4 separate regions of the Homo sapiens genome follow, and all the other regions are linked to region 1. The links are contacts of gene promoters, found by promoter capture Hi-C in human tissues and cell types (Jung and others, 2019). All regions are on one chromosome and are shown on one strand. The core of a region is centred on a gene start or on the middle of the fragment in contact, and the rest is flanking DNA. Distances in the headings are between cores, read along the strand shown.

Evidence for each region. Contacts are between HindIII fragments. The study calls those that stand out against the background at their distance.
Region 2: a fragment that was not itself captured here is called in contact with the fragment with the promoter of FAM186A in region 1 in 1 of the 25 tissues and cell types used here (mesenchymal stem cells).
Region 3: a contact is called between a fragment that was not itself captured here and the fragment with the promoter of FAM186A in region 1, in 1 of the 25 tissues and cell types used here (hippocampus).
Region 4: a contact is called between a fragment that was not itself captured here and the fragment with the promoter of FAM186A in region 1, in 1 of the 25 tissues and cell types used here (bladder).

The regions. Positions count from the first base shown.
Region 1 is chr12:50,395,045-50,398,194 of GRCh38, forward strand. It overlaps FAM186A (family with sequence similarity 186 member A), which reads right to left and starts at 1,565. Exons shown (of 8, transcript NM_001145475.3): 1 at 1,249-1,565. The coding sequence starts at 1,440. The HindIII fragment of the contact is 8,551 bases long and covers 1-3,150 here.
Region 2 is chr12:50,334,001-50,337,150 of GRCh38, forward strand. It overlaps FAM186A (family with sequence similarity 186 member A), which reads right to left. Exons shown (of 8, transcript NM_001145475.3): 5 at 1-103. Among named protein-coding and RNA genes, the nearest start is that of LIMA1, 52 kb to the left of the region's middle. The HindIII fragment of the contact is 5,482 bases long and covers 1-3,150 here.
Region 3 is chr12:50,440,022-50,443,171 of GRCh38, forward strand. It overlaps LARP4 (La ribonucleoprotein 4), which reads left to right. Exons shown (of 16, transcript NM_052879.5): 7 at 418-528; 8 at 1,569-1,622. Among named protein-coding and RNA genes, the nearest start is that of SNORD133, 15 kb to the right of the region's middle. The HindIII fragment of the contact is 6,893 bases long and covers 1-3,150 here.
Region 4 is chr12:50,351,091-50,354,240 of GRCh38, forward strand. FAM186A (family with sequence similarity 186 member A) reads right to left here. Exons shown (of 8, transcript NM_001145475.3): 4 at 1-3,150. Among named protein-coding and RNA genes, the nearest start is that of FAM186A, 44 kb to the right of the region's middle. The HindIII fragment of the contact is 3,491 bases long and covers 1-3,150 here.

The sequences.
Region 1 (3,150 bases), core at 315-2,814:
ATAGGAAAGAACCCCCCCTTAATCAATTTCATCAAACATGACTGATTTTTGTTTGTTTGTTTGTTTTTGAGACAGGGTCTCGCTATGTCACCCATGCTGAGTGGGGTGCAGTAGTGCAAGCATGGTGCTCACTGCAGTCTCCTGGGTTCAGGGGATCCTCTGGCCTCCCAAGGAGCTGGGACTACAGGTTTGAGCTAACATGCCTGGCTAATTTTTTTATTTTTAGTAGACAGGAGGTCTCCTTATGTTGGCCAAGCTGGTCTAGAACTCCTGGGCTCAAGAGATCCTCCTGCCTTGGCCTCCCAAAGCATTGGGATTACAGGCATGAATCGCTGTGCCTGGCCTGATTTTGTTGTACTGCGAGAGAATAAAATGCAGTATAACCTTAATTGTTTGGGGGTCTATTAGATTCTTATGTATTTATTTATTTATTTATTTTTCTAAAAATATAGATGGGGTCTCACTATGTTGACCAGGCTGGTCTCTAACTCCTGGCCTCAAGGGATCCTCCCATCTCAGCTTCCCAAAGTGTTGGGATTACAGGCATAAGCCACCGCACCCGGCTGACATTATGTAAACACTCTTTCTATTCTCCTTGAATTTCTCCTAATTTCTCCTTGAAGTGTACAGGGAAAATAAAAGGAGCTAGAATTCAAAGCCATCTAAATTCTATCTGGCTAATAGCTGTTTGATAAAACCTCCATAGGGAACAAATGAAAACTTTTTTTTTTTTTGAGATAGAGTTTCGCTTTTGTTGCCCAGGCTGGAGTGCAATGGTGCAATCTTGGCTCACCACAACCTCCACCTCCCTGGTTCAAGCAATTCTCCTACCTCAGCCTCCTGAGTAGCTGGGATTACAGGCAAGTGCAATCATGCCCAGCTAACTTTTTGTATTTTTAGTAGAAACGGTGGTTTCTCCATGTTGGTCAGGCTGGTCTTGAACTCCCGACCTCAGTGATCCGCCCGCCTCGGCCTCCCAAAGTGCTGGGATTACAGGCGTGAGCCACCATGCCCGGCTTGATTTATTTCTTAAATGGCTTTATTAAACCTGATATAAAGAGATTAATGTCAAATTGGAGCTTGTTATATCCACAGTCGGTGTCAGGTGAAATTGTCATTTGAAGTCAAAGCTACCCTAAATACAGTCAAATATCATGAAAGTGATTTCTAAAATAAACAAAAATGTACTTGGTCACAGAAAGTTTAAAAAGAAAATTGCAGTCTGTAAACTTCAGATTCACTACCTACCTCTCTGGCTCGATGGAGCTGTGCGCGCTCAATCCTAGAGATGATATCCTTTACTGAGAATGGGATCTCAAGGTTAGGGAGCATCAAAGGACTAAGGATATTTTGGGGCTCTCTTCTCATGATGGTGGAATCCTTGATGCATTTTTCTGATTCAGGGTCATTGTCTATCTCATTTTTCATTTTGAAGAACATTTTGAAAATGTGGGTGATTTCGTTTTATTTCTTCTTTTTCACAGAATCTACAAAAATGCTAATAAAGATATCCAGTAGGAAGCTAGGAGAGGTCTTTCCTGATCCTAGAAGTTGTGGCATACTCTGCTACTAATTGGTGGCTCCCATGATATTCCCGTCCTGTTGATGTCACAATAGACCCATTGTGACATTATCATTGATCAAACATGTAAAGAATGCTTACTATGTGCAGAGAACTGGTCATTCTATATGCTGCCATGGTAGAAGGGTGAGGGGGGAAGGAGGGTAGGAAATAATAGACAACAGGAATGCTAAAATAAACAGAAGATATAGCCCTGCTTAAATAAGCTTAAAATCTAGATGTGTTGGCCGGGTGCAGTGGCTCATGCCTGTAATCCCAGCACTTTGGGAGGCCGAGGCAGGTGGATCACCAGAGGTCGGAGTTCGAGACCAGCCTGACCAACATGGAGAAACCCCGTCTCTACTAAAAAAAAAAAAATACAAAATTAGCCATGTGAGGTGGCACATGCGTGTAGTCCCAGCTACTTGGGAGGCTGAGGCAGGAGAATCACTTGAACCCGGGAGGCGGAGGTTGTGGTGAGCCGAGATCACGTCATTGCACTCCAGCCTGGGCAACAAGAGTGAAACTGTCTCAAAAAAAAAAAAAAAAAAATCTAGGTGTGTCAAATATAACTCCTGGTTCTTCTCTCTTCCTGGGGTTTTGCTTAAGTATTTTTAAGCCTGTAATGGAATAAAGGTTACAACTACTTCCTCAGCTGCCCCTTAACTTTTCCTAGACATGTAGTAACTTGGATGATATCATTTGGATGAAGTAACTTGGATGATATCATTTGGATGAGGATCACACTCTTTGCACTGCTTACTCTTTTTTCTTTTCTTTTCTTTTCTTTCCCTTTTTTTTGGAGACAGAGTCTCACTTTGTTACCCAGGCTGGAGTGCAGTGGTGTGATCTTGGTTCATGGCAACCTCTGCCTCCCAGGTTCAAGAGATTCTTGTGCCTCAGCCTCCCTGAGTAGCTGGAATTACAGGTGCGCGCCACCACGCCTGGCTAATTTTTGTTTAATATTTGCTTCCAATTTTTTTAATAATAAAAAAGCATTACAGAAGGTTGAAGTCCTCTTTGATGTCCCCCACCCCTGGTTCCTTCCTTCCCCACTGTCCCATTCCAGAGGAAATGACAATCATGAATTTTACATATTTGTGTTATCTATTTTTACATAGTTTTACTACAGGTGTATGTATTGTTTTTTCTTTCTTTCTTTCTTTCTCCTTCCTTCCTTCCTTCCTTCCTTCCTTCCTTCCTTCCTTCCTTCCTTCCTTTCTTTCTTTCTTTTTTTTTTTTTGAGGCAGAGTCTCACTCTGTTGTCCAGGCTGGAGTGTAGTAGTGCCATCTCAGCAGACTGTAACCTCTGCCTCCCAGGTTCAAACGATTCTTCTACCTCAGCCTCCCGAGTAGCTGGGATTACAGGCATGCGCCACCACACCTGGCTAATTTTTTTTTTTTTTTTTTTTGAGACGGAATCTCGCCTGTGGCCCAGGCTGGAGTGCAGTGGCATGATCTCGGCTCACTGCAAGCTCCGCCTCCCAGGTTTGCTCCATTCTCCTGCCTCAGCCTCCCGAGTAGCTGGGACTACAGGCGCCCGCCACCACACCCGGCTAGTTTTTTGTATTTTTTAGTAGAGACGGGGT
Region 2 (3,150 bases), core at 430-2,929, 61 kb before region 1:
TTTCCCGTAGTCATCAAGTCTGCTCAGCATCATGTGGAGGTTCCTGGCCTCATAGCCTTTCCCAGTATTTTGGATGGCTTTTAGTCGTTTCATTATGTTGTTCCTTGAAAAGATTAATAAAAATTAGAGCGATAATAGTTGCAGACCCTACTTCAACAAACTTGTCCTCAGTTTCTTTTTTTTTTTTGAGACGGAGTTTCGATCTTGTTGCCCAGGCTGGAGGTGCAATGGTGCAATCATGGCTTATTGCAACCTCCACCTCCTGGATTCAAGAAATTATCCTGCCTCAGCTTCCTGAGTAGCTGGGACTACAGGTGCGCACCACCATGCCCAGCTAATTTTTGTATTTTTAGTAGAGACGGGGTTTCTCCATGTTGGTCAGGCTGGTCTCAAACTCCTGACCTCGTGATCCACTTTCCTTGTCCTCCCAAAGTGCTGGGATTACAGTCCTGAGCCACTGAGCATGGCCTCTTTTTAATTTAATTTTATTTTTTTGAGACAGAGTCTCACTCTGTTGCCCAGGCTGGAGTGCAGTGGTGTGATCTTGACTCACTGCAACCTCTGCCTCATGGGTTCAAGCGATTCTCATGCCTCAGCCTCCCAAGTAGCTGGGAATACAGGTGTGCACCACCACGCCCAGCTAATTTTTGTATTTTTAGTAGAGATGGGGTTTTGCCATGTTGTCCAGGCTGGTCTTGAACTCTTGACCTCAAGCGATCCTCCTGCCACAGCCTCCCAAAATGTTGGGATTACAGGAGTGAGCCACTATGCCCAACCTGTCCTCAGTTTCTTTCAATTCTCTCATCATCCCCAGTAAGTAGAGAAGGATGGGAAGCTTGCTTAATAAGACTTTAATCCAGTTCCTATGAATGAACCTTCAAAAATCTATATGATTATCAAAATTTTCATTAAGTCTTCACAAAATTTCCAGTGTTAAAATAGTGTTGCTTACAATTATTTTAATATATTTTAAAAATTATGCCAGGTGAAGTGGCTCATGCCTGTAATCCCAGCACTTTGGGAGGCTGAGGTGGGAGGATCGCTTGAGGCCAGGAGTCTGTGACCAGCTTGGGCAATATAGTAAGACTCCGTCTCTGCAAAATAAAAATAGCTGGGCATGGTGGCACATACCTGTAGACACAGCCACTCAGGAGGCTGAGGTGAGAGGCTTGCTTGAGCCTAGGGAGTTCGAGGCTGCAGTGAGTTATGATCACGCCATTACATTCACCTTTTTGTTAAGGGCAAGACTCCAACTCTTAAAAAATTAGTTAAATGTGGCTATTTGTAATAAAAATTACCTTAGGGGATAAGATAGATCATTTTTTTCATATGTATAGATATGTGTAAGACACATAGAAGGTAAGGCCGGGCACAGTGTCTCACGCCTGTAATCCAAGCACTTTGGGAAGCCAAGGCTGGTGGATCACAAGGTCAAGAGTTCAAGAGCAGCCTGGCCAACATGGTGAAACCCCATCTCCTCTAAAAACACAAAAATTAGCCAGGTGCGGTGGCAGGTGACTGTAATCCCAGCTACTTGGGAGGCTGAGGCAGAAGAATCACTTGAACCCGAGCAACAGAGGTTGCAGTGAGCCGAGATCGTGCCACTGCACTCCAGCCTGGGCAACAGAGTGTGAGATCCTATCTCAAAAAAAAAAAAATGACACATAGAAAGTACTTAATACAATTATGGAAAAGACAGTGTCCTTGCCTTCAAAAGCACTTATAATCCAGAATAGGACACTACGTTACTTGTAAAAAAAAAGAAATAGAATGAAATAAATGCTAACTAAATAGGCTGCAGGAGCAAAAAGGAAAGCATAGTTAATTCCAGTAAGGGTAATAAGGCCGGGCGCAGTGGCTCATGCCTGTAATCCCAGCACTTTGGGAGGCCGAGGTGGGCAGATCACGAGGTCAGGGGCTCCAGACCAGACTGACCAACATGGTGAAACCCTGACTCTACTAAAAAATACAAAAATTAGCCCGGTGTGATGGCGGGCGCCTATAGTCCCAGCTACTCAGGAGGCTGAGGCAGGAGAATCACTTGAACCTGGGAGGTGGAGGTTGCAGTGAGCCGAGACCACACCATTGCACTCCAGCCTGGGTGACAGAGTGAGACTCCATCTCAAAAAAAAAAAAAAGAGTAATAAAGAAGGCTTTATAGGAAGGTGTCAAGCAGAATTTTGAGGGACAGTCATAAAAAGATTCTCCCTTTCTCTCTCTCTCCCTACTGCCCTCCTATAATGTATTCCACCACATTTTGGTGGTCCTAAACAGAGTTTTGCCATCCTCATTCTACAGAAGAGGAAAAGAAATCTCAGCAAAGTTAAGTGTTTTTTCTAATGTCCCATAATTGATAAATGGTAGATTTGGGAAGCAAGCCCAGAACTTCTTTCTTCCACAATGCCAATATTTCTCAAGGTGCGGACTCTGATCACCTAGACTGAACCATATGGGGTAGACGGGTGGGGTGCTTGTTGAAAATGCAGGTTCCAAGGTCCTTCTCCATACCTTTTGAATCAAAATCTTAGTGGTAGGCTTCAGGAATCTGCATTTTAAAATCTCAGGTAACTCTTACTTTACTAAAGTTTGAAAACCATTGTGCTTACGGACAGAACAGGGAAGAAGGGGATGAGGAAGTCCAGGTGGAGAAATCCCATAAACAAAGGTAAGAAAACGAAAGTTATATTTTGAGAGTGATGAGTAGTCTGGGGTTTTTGACCACAGATATGTGAAAGGATATAGTGGGGGATGAGACTGGAATGGTTGGATAGTGAAAGATGAAAGGCTTTCAAAGGTATGTTAAGGAGTTTGGATCTTCTCTTATTTTTTTTTTTGGTAGATGATGGGGACCCATCAAAGACATTTTTCTAAATATATGTATTTTATATACATGCGTATATATATATATTGCCTCAGGTGAATCAGTGAGATTTACCTGAGATTTTATTTATCCATCTCTATCTATATTGAGAGAGAAGAGAGAAAGAATAATTCTTAGCTCTTAGGTTTCTTTTGTGGGTTATAATGAATACTTTAGAACCTACTATATATATGGATCATTTAATACTTAAATTATTATATTTGTATTTAATATTTAAACATATTAGATTTTTTAATTTTCCAATAAGCCTCTTCACACCAAATATTTCC
Region 3 (3,150 bases), core at 393-2,892, 45 kb after region 1:
CTGTGGGAGGCCAGGCAGGAAAAGGACAGGGGAGATTTCACTAAGCATTTAGCTTGCCACTGGAAGTGAAATACTTACGCTTTGCTTATTGTAAAATAAATCATCCCAAAATCATGTACAAAATACATCTCCTGGCCAAGTGGAGTGGCTCGTGCCTGTAATCTCAGCACTTTGGAGTGCTCAGGCGGAAGGATCGCTTGCATCCGGGAGTTTGAGACCAGACTCAAATATATCTCCTATTAACTCTGTATTTGTTTTGAAACAGCCCATCCTCAGTGGAAAAATGGGCAAAAGTTAAGTGAAGTGATAGGACCAAAGACATGAAGATAGGCTTAACATTACTAGTAAACAAACCAACAAAAAATGCCAATTATTGATGTATTTTTTAGAGTTAACTAATTTTCTTTTTCTTTTTAGGAAGTGAAAGGTTTGTTCAAAAGTGAAAACTGCCCCAAAGTGATAAGCTGTGAGTTTGCACACAATAGCAACTGGTATATCACTTTCCAGTCAGACACAGATGCACAACAGGTAAGAAGAAAACATTTTCTGATACAAGTCCATCCTAGTGGCAAAATAAGTAGTGGTATATTTTAATTGAGAAAATGTGTGTTTACACTGATGTTTATCAAGACTAGTGAGTACCTTGGTCACCCTTTTGCTTTTGCTCAATTGGTTTCCTTTTTGATCATCTTCCTAAAGTTTTTCAGTTTTGATTTAGGAAGTTTGTTTTCTGTCGATAAGAATATTAACATAACAGTTTTAAAATTAACATAGGGATCGAGAACCATGTACCTAGTGGTATTTTTAGTACATAATAGGTCTGCAATAAACAAAATTCTTGGAATTTTGACTTGATGGTTTTATTCTTTTTTTTTTTTTTGAGACGGAGTCTCACTCTGTCGCCCGGGCTGGAGTGCAGTGGCGCAATCTCGGCTCACTGCAACCTCCACCTCCTGGGTTCAAGTGATTCTCCTGCCTCAGCCTCCCAAGTAGCTGGAATTACAGGCACCCGCCACTACACCCAGCTAATTTTTTGTATTTTTAGTAGAGGTGGGGTTTCACCATATTGGTCAGGCCGGTCTCAAACTCCTGACCTCGTGATTCGCCTGCCTCAGCCTTCCGAAGTGCTGGGATTACAGGCATGAGCCACTGCACCCGGTGATGGTTTTATTCTTAATTGTTAACATGTCTTAAAGAGAAATAATCCTTTGAAACACAAATATATCTATGATAAGGGTGTTTAAAAATCACTCACAGATTTTTATTTTTTAAAACAATTTATTAGAAAGTTGATCATTTTTAAATTGGTTTCTAGGGATATTTTGGGTCTGTTTTCAATCCTAATGCATTTTGTCTGCAGTAATCCATGGTGGCTTTTCTACAATAAATATGAACTGTGATTGAGAAGGCGTTACATTTTTACTTTTTCATTCCCTGTCCACCTGCACAGTGGAATCACCTACATAATTTTGTTTTTATAGTTTAATACTAAACTCTCAACATAATAAAGATAACTTTACTGAAATGTTTGAATGCTAATGAAAGTTTTTTTTGTGCTTTGTTAACAGGCTTTTAAATACTTAAGAGAAGAAGTTAAAACATTTCAGGGCAAGCCAATTATGGTAAGAAATAGAGATCAGTGTGAAACCAGAACAGGTTTTGGTTCTCTGTATGAGAATTTAAAAAATACAGACAGATAATATTTTATAAAAACCCATAGTGACTTTCAAAAAGTTTCTGGCTTGGTCCAGGCGTGGTGGCTCACACCTGTGATCCCAGCACTTTGGGAGTCCAAGGCAGGTGGATAGCATGACGCCAGGAGTTCGAGACCAGCCTTGCCAATATGATGAAACCCCATCTCTACTAAAAATAGAAAAAATTAGCCGGGTGTTGTGGCACACGCCTGTAGTTCCAGATACTTGAGAGGCTGAGGCAGGAGAACTGCTTTAACCCGGGAGGCGTAGGTTGCAGTGAGCAGAGATTGCATCACTGCACTCCAGCCTGGGGGACAGAGCAAGACCTTGTCTCAAAAACAACAACAACAAATTTTCTGGCTTGTATTATGTGCTACTTCAGAAAATCCTTTGATAAGCCATAAAAATACTTTGTGTACAGCAATTCTTTACAAAGGGGTAACTTCAAATAGCATGAGGTTTAATTAGATGCTGATTTACAACATATGAGATAATTCCAGATCTCAAAATGAGCAATAGAAATAATTTTTAGTAACAGATGAAAAATATTCACAGTACTTTCAACCTCATCTCAATTAACTGCATCACTACGTACCATCAATACAACCATTTGGAAACCTAGGCATTGTCACTGATGACACATTTGATCCCTGTCTTTACATGTCTAATCTGTTCTCAGGTCCTGTGAAAATGCTTTCCAAAAATCTCCCATTGTTTAGGCTTGAACACTTGGAGTAGCCTCTTAACTGCTGTGTTACCAGTTTTTCCCCCCCTTAACAATCTGTTCTTCACATTGCTACCAGAGCTAGTGTTCTAAACCATAATCCAGTAACATACACTTAGTTCGACTTGATCCTCATTCCCTGTGTGCTATAGTTATTCTTATTTGTAAATGTAATACATTATTCTTACTAATCCCTCTGTGTTGAACTCTGTGTGTCACTTTCTGTTTTAAGCACTTTACATGTATTGACTCATTTAATCCTTACAGGAACCTAATGAGATAGTGCTTTTGTTTTCTTCAGTTTCCTAGTGAGGATAATAAGACACGAGGGTAACCTACCTAGTTTCACATAACTAGTAAGTGGAAGAACTAGGATAACAGTGACTTACATTTATTAAGAGGTTCTAAGAACTTACCATATTTAAATCTCATAATTGCTGTGAAGTAGGTGGGATTATTAGTTTCCATATTACAGATGAGGCTGTTTTCTAGCTGTCATTCTACTTCCTCTGTCTATGATGTTCTTCTCCCTTTTATCTTTCCCTGCTTTGAGGCTTTTATAAAGATATTCTCCTGAGTCTTCTTAATAGCTTTAAAGTTTTAAAGTATTTCAGAAGTGGGTCTTTGGTATATCTGGAATTAATTTTATATATAGTATAAGATAGGAATCTAGTTCTATTTTTCCCCATATATGGAAAGACATTTATTTCAACACTTAATTTTTTGTCATTT
Region 4 (3,150 bases), core at 233-2,732, 44 kb before region 1:
GTCCATGTTGCCAGATGCTGCCCAGGGGTAGAAGGAGCCTGCAGATAGGGAGATTGCTCAGCAGTGGCAGGAGGCTGGAATTCCTGGAGCTGCTCAGAGAAGGTTAAGGGTCCAGATTCCAGGAGGTCCCCAGGGATGGAAGAGGCTTCAGGAACTAAGGGCTGCCCAGGAGAAAGAGGAGCCCAGAGACTTGGAATCTGTCCAGAAGTGGGTGGAACTCCAGCTATAAAGGGCTGCCCTGGAGTGGGAGGGGCCCGAGATATTGGGAGCTGCCCAGGGGAGGGAGGGGCCTGTGGTGCCGGGAACTGCGCAGAAGTGGATTGACCTCCGTATACCAGGGTCTGTCCAGAGGAACGAAGAGTCTGTGGTGCCCCAAGCTTCCCAGGCTCAGAAAGAATCCCCATTTCTAGGGGCTTCCCAGGGGCAAAGGGGCCTTGGTTGAGGGGAACCCTTGATATCTGCAAAGGAGTAGAAGAGACCCCGAATATAGAGGACTTCTCAGCAGTAGGAGCTGATGATGCCAGGGACAGCCTAAGACTTGGAGACAATCTTGATATGATGGATTGCCCAGTGGGGAGAGAAGCCTTCGATTTCTGAAATGGTCTATGGGACCACTGGACTTGCTTAAGGGTGAGGGGCGATCCCAAGGTATGGGCTTTATCTAAGGTGAGAGGAACCCCTAACTTCAATAACTGTTCTTGAGCCTGTTCTAAGTTCATAGGGGACTCCAAAGCGTGGGTTTGCTCAGAGGTAAGAGTGACAGCTGACACCCAGGCATTTACTGGGGTGATGGGGACTCCCAGTGCCTGGGCCTGCTGAGGGGTGAGAGTGATCCCCTGAGCCTGCGCCTGCTGAGGGGTGAGAGAGATCCCCAGAGCCTGGGCCTGCTGAGGGGTGAGAGGGATCCCCTGAGCCTGCGCCTGCTGAGGGGTGAGAGGGATCCCCAGTTCCTGCGCCTGCTGAGGGGTGAGAGGGATCCCCAGTTCCTGCGCCTGCTGAGGGGTGAGAGGGATCCCCAGGGCCTGGGCCTGCTGAGGGGTGAGAGGGATCTCCAATTCCTGAGCCTGCGGAGGGATGAGAGGGATCCCCAGGGCCTGGACCTGCTGAGGGGTGAGAGGGATCCCCAATTCCTGAGCCTGCGGAGGGATCAGAGGGATCCCCAGGGCCTGGGCCTGCTGAGGGGTGAGAGGGATCCCCAATTCCTGAGCCTGCGGAGGGATGAGAAGGATCCCCAGGGCCTGGGCCTGCTGAGGGGTGAGAGGGATCCCCAATTCCTGAGCCTGCGGAGGGATGAGAGGGATCCCCAGGGCCTGGGCCTGCTGAGGGGTGAGAGGGATCCCCAATTCCTGAGCCTGCTGAGGGGTGAGAGTGATCCCCAGCTCCTGAGCCTGCTGAGCGGTGAGAGGCATCCCCAGGGCCTGGGCCTGCTGAGGGGTGAGAGTGATCTCCTGAGCCTGTGCCTGCTGAGGGGTGAAAGGGATCCCCAATTCCTGAGCCTGCTGAGGGGTGAGAGGGATCCCCAGTTCCTGAGCCTGCTGAGTGGTGAGAGGCATCCCCAAGGCCTGAGCCTGCTGAGGGGTGAGAGGGATCCCCAGTTCCTGAGCCTGCTGAGTGGTGAGAGGCATCCCCAAGGCCTGAGCGTGCTGAGGGGTGAGAGGGATCCCCAGTTCCTGAGCCTGCTGAGTGGTGAGAGGCATCCCCAAGGCCTGGGCCTGCTGAGGGGTGAGAGTGATCTCCTGAGTCTGCGCCTGCTGAGGGGTGAGAGGGATCCCCAGGGCCTGCGCCTGCTGAGGGGTGAAAGGGATCCCCAGAGCCTGTGCCTGCTTAGGGGTGAGAGGGATCCCCAGGGTCTGGGCCTGCTGAGGGTTGAGAGGGATCCCCAATTCCTGAGCCTGCTTAGGGGTGAGAGTGATCCCCAGGGCCTGGGCCTGCTGAGGAGTAAGAGGGATCCCCAGTTCCTGAACCTGCTTAGGGGTGAGAGTGATTCCGAGAGCCTGCGCCTGCTGAGGGGTGAGAGGGATCCCCAATTGCTGGGCCTGCTGAAGGGTTAGAGTGATCCCCAGGGCCTGGGCCTGCTGAGGGGTGAGAGGGATCCCCAATTCCTGAGCCTGCTGAGGGGTGAGAGAGACCCTCAGGGCCTGGGCCTGCTGAGGGGTGAGAGGGATCCCCAATTCCTGAGCCTGCTGAGGGGTGAGAGGGATCCCCAGGGCCTGGGCCTGCTGAGGGGTAAGAGGGATCCCTAGTTTCTGAGCCTGCTGAGTGGTGAGAGAGATCCCCGGGGCCTGGTCCTGCTGAGGGGTGAGAGTGATCCCTTGAACCTGGGTCTGCTGAGGGGTGAGAGGGATCCCCAGGGCCTGCGCCTGCTGAGGGGTGAAAAGGATCTCCAGGGCCTGGGCCTGCTGAGGGGTGAGAGGGATCCCTAGTTCCTGGGCCTGCTGAAGGGTGAGCGTGATCCCCTGAGCCTGGGCCTGCTGAGGAGTGAGTGTGATCCCCACTTCCTGGGCCTGCTGAGGTGTGAGATGAATGCATTTAGTGAGAGGCTGGCCAGAAATAGGAAGAGCTCCAGGCAGGGAGTATTGTAGGGAGGGGGGAGGTGTGATTGATATGGGCTCCTTTTCATCAGGAAGGTTCTCTAATGTCTTCAGATTCCTCTGAAACTCTTTTCCTTCATATGACCGCTGTACATCTTTCAATACACTCTTCCACCTGGGAGATAATGTCATTGGAGTTTGGATGACCATTTTTTCTAGCTCTTTAGGTTGTGTTTCCTTCATCTGCATCTGATCCTTTGTTTTGATCTGCCTTTCGAGGTCCTCTAGCCCTCTCTCTGGCTTCTGCTTTTCCTTCCCTTTCTCCCTTCTCCTGTGTGGCCCCAAATGTTTCGCTTCCTTCTGAATCTGCCTCATCTGTCCATTCTCCTTTTCCAAGAGCAACCCTTGTGTTTTCATTTTTTGGGTCCCTTCTTCCAGCCGCTGCAGGCTTGACTTTGGAAGCTCTTCTTCCTCCTGTCCTCTTTGCTTTTGCTTTTCCTCTTGCTCAGCCTGCTTTGGAGTTGCCTGTTTTTGCTCTTCCTTCCACATCTCTTCTTCCTGCCACTGTTTCTGGCTCTGTTGTTCTTGCTTTCCCTCCTTCATCTGGAGCCATGCCTTT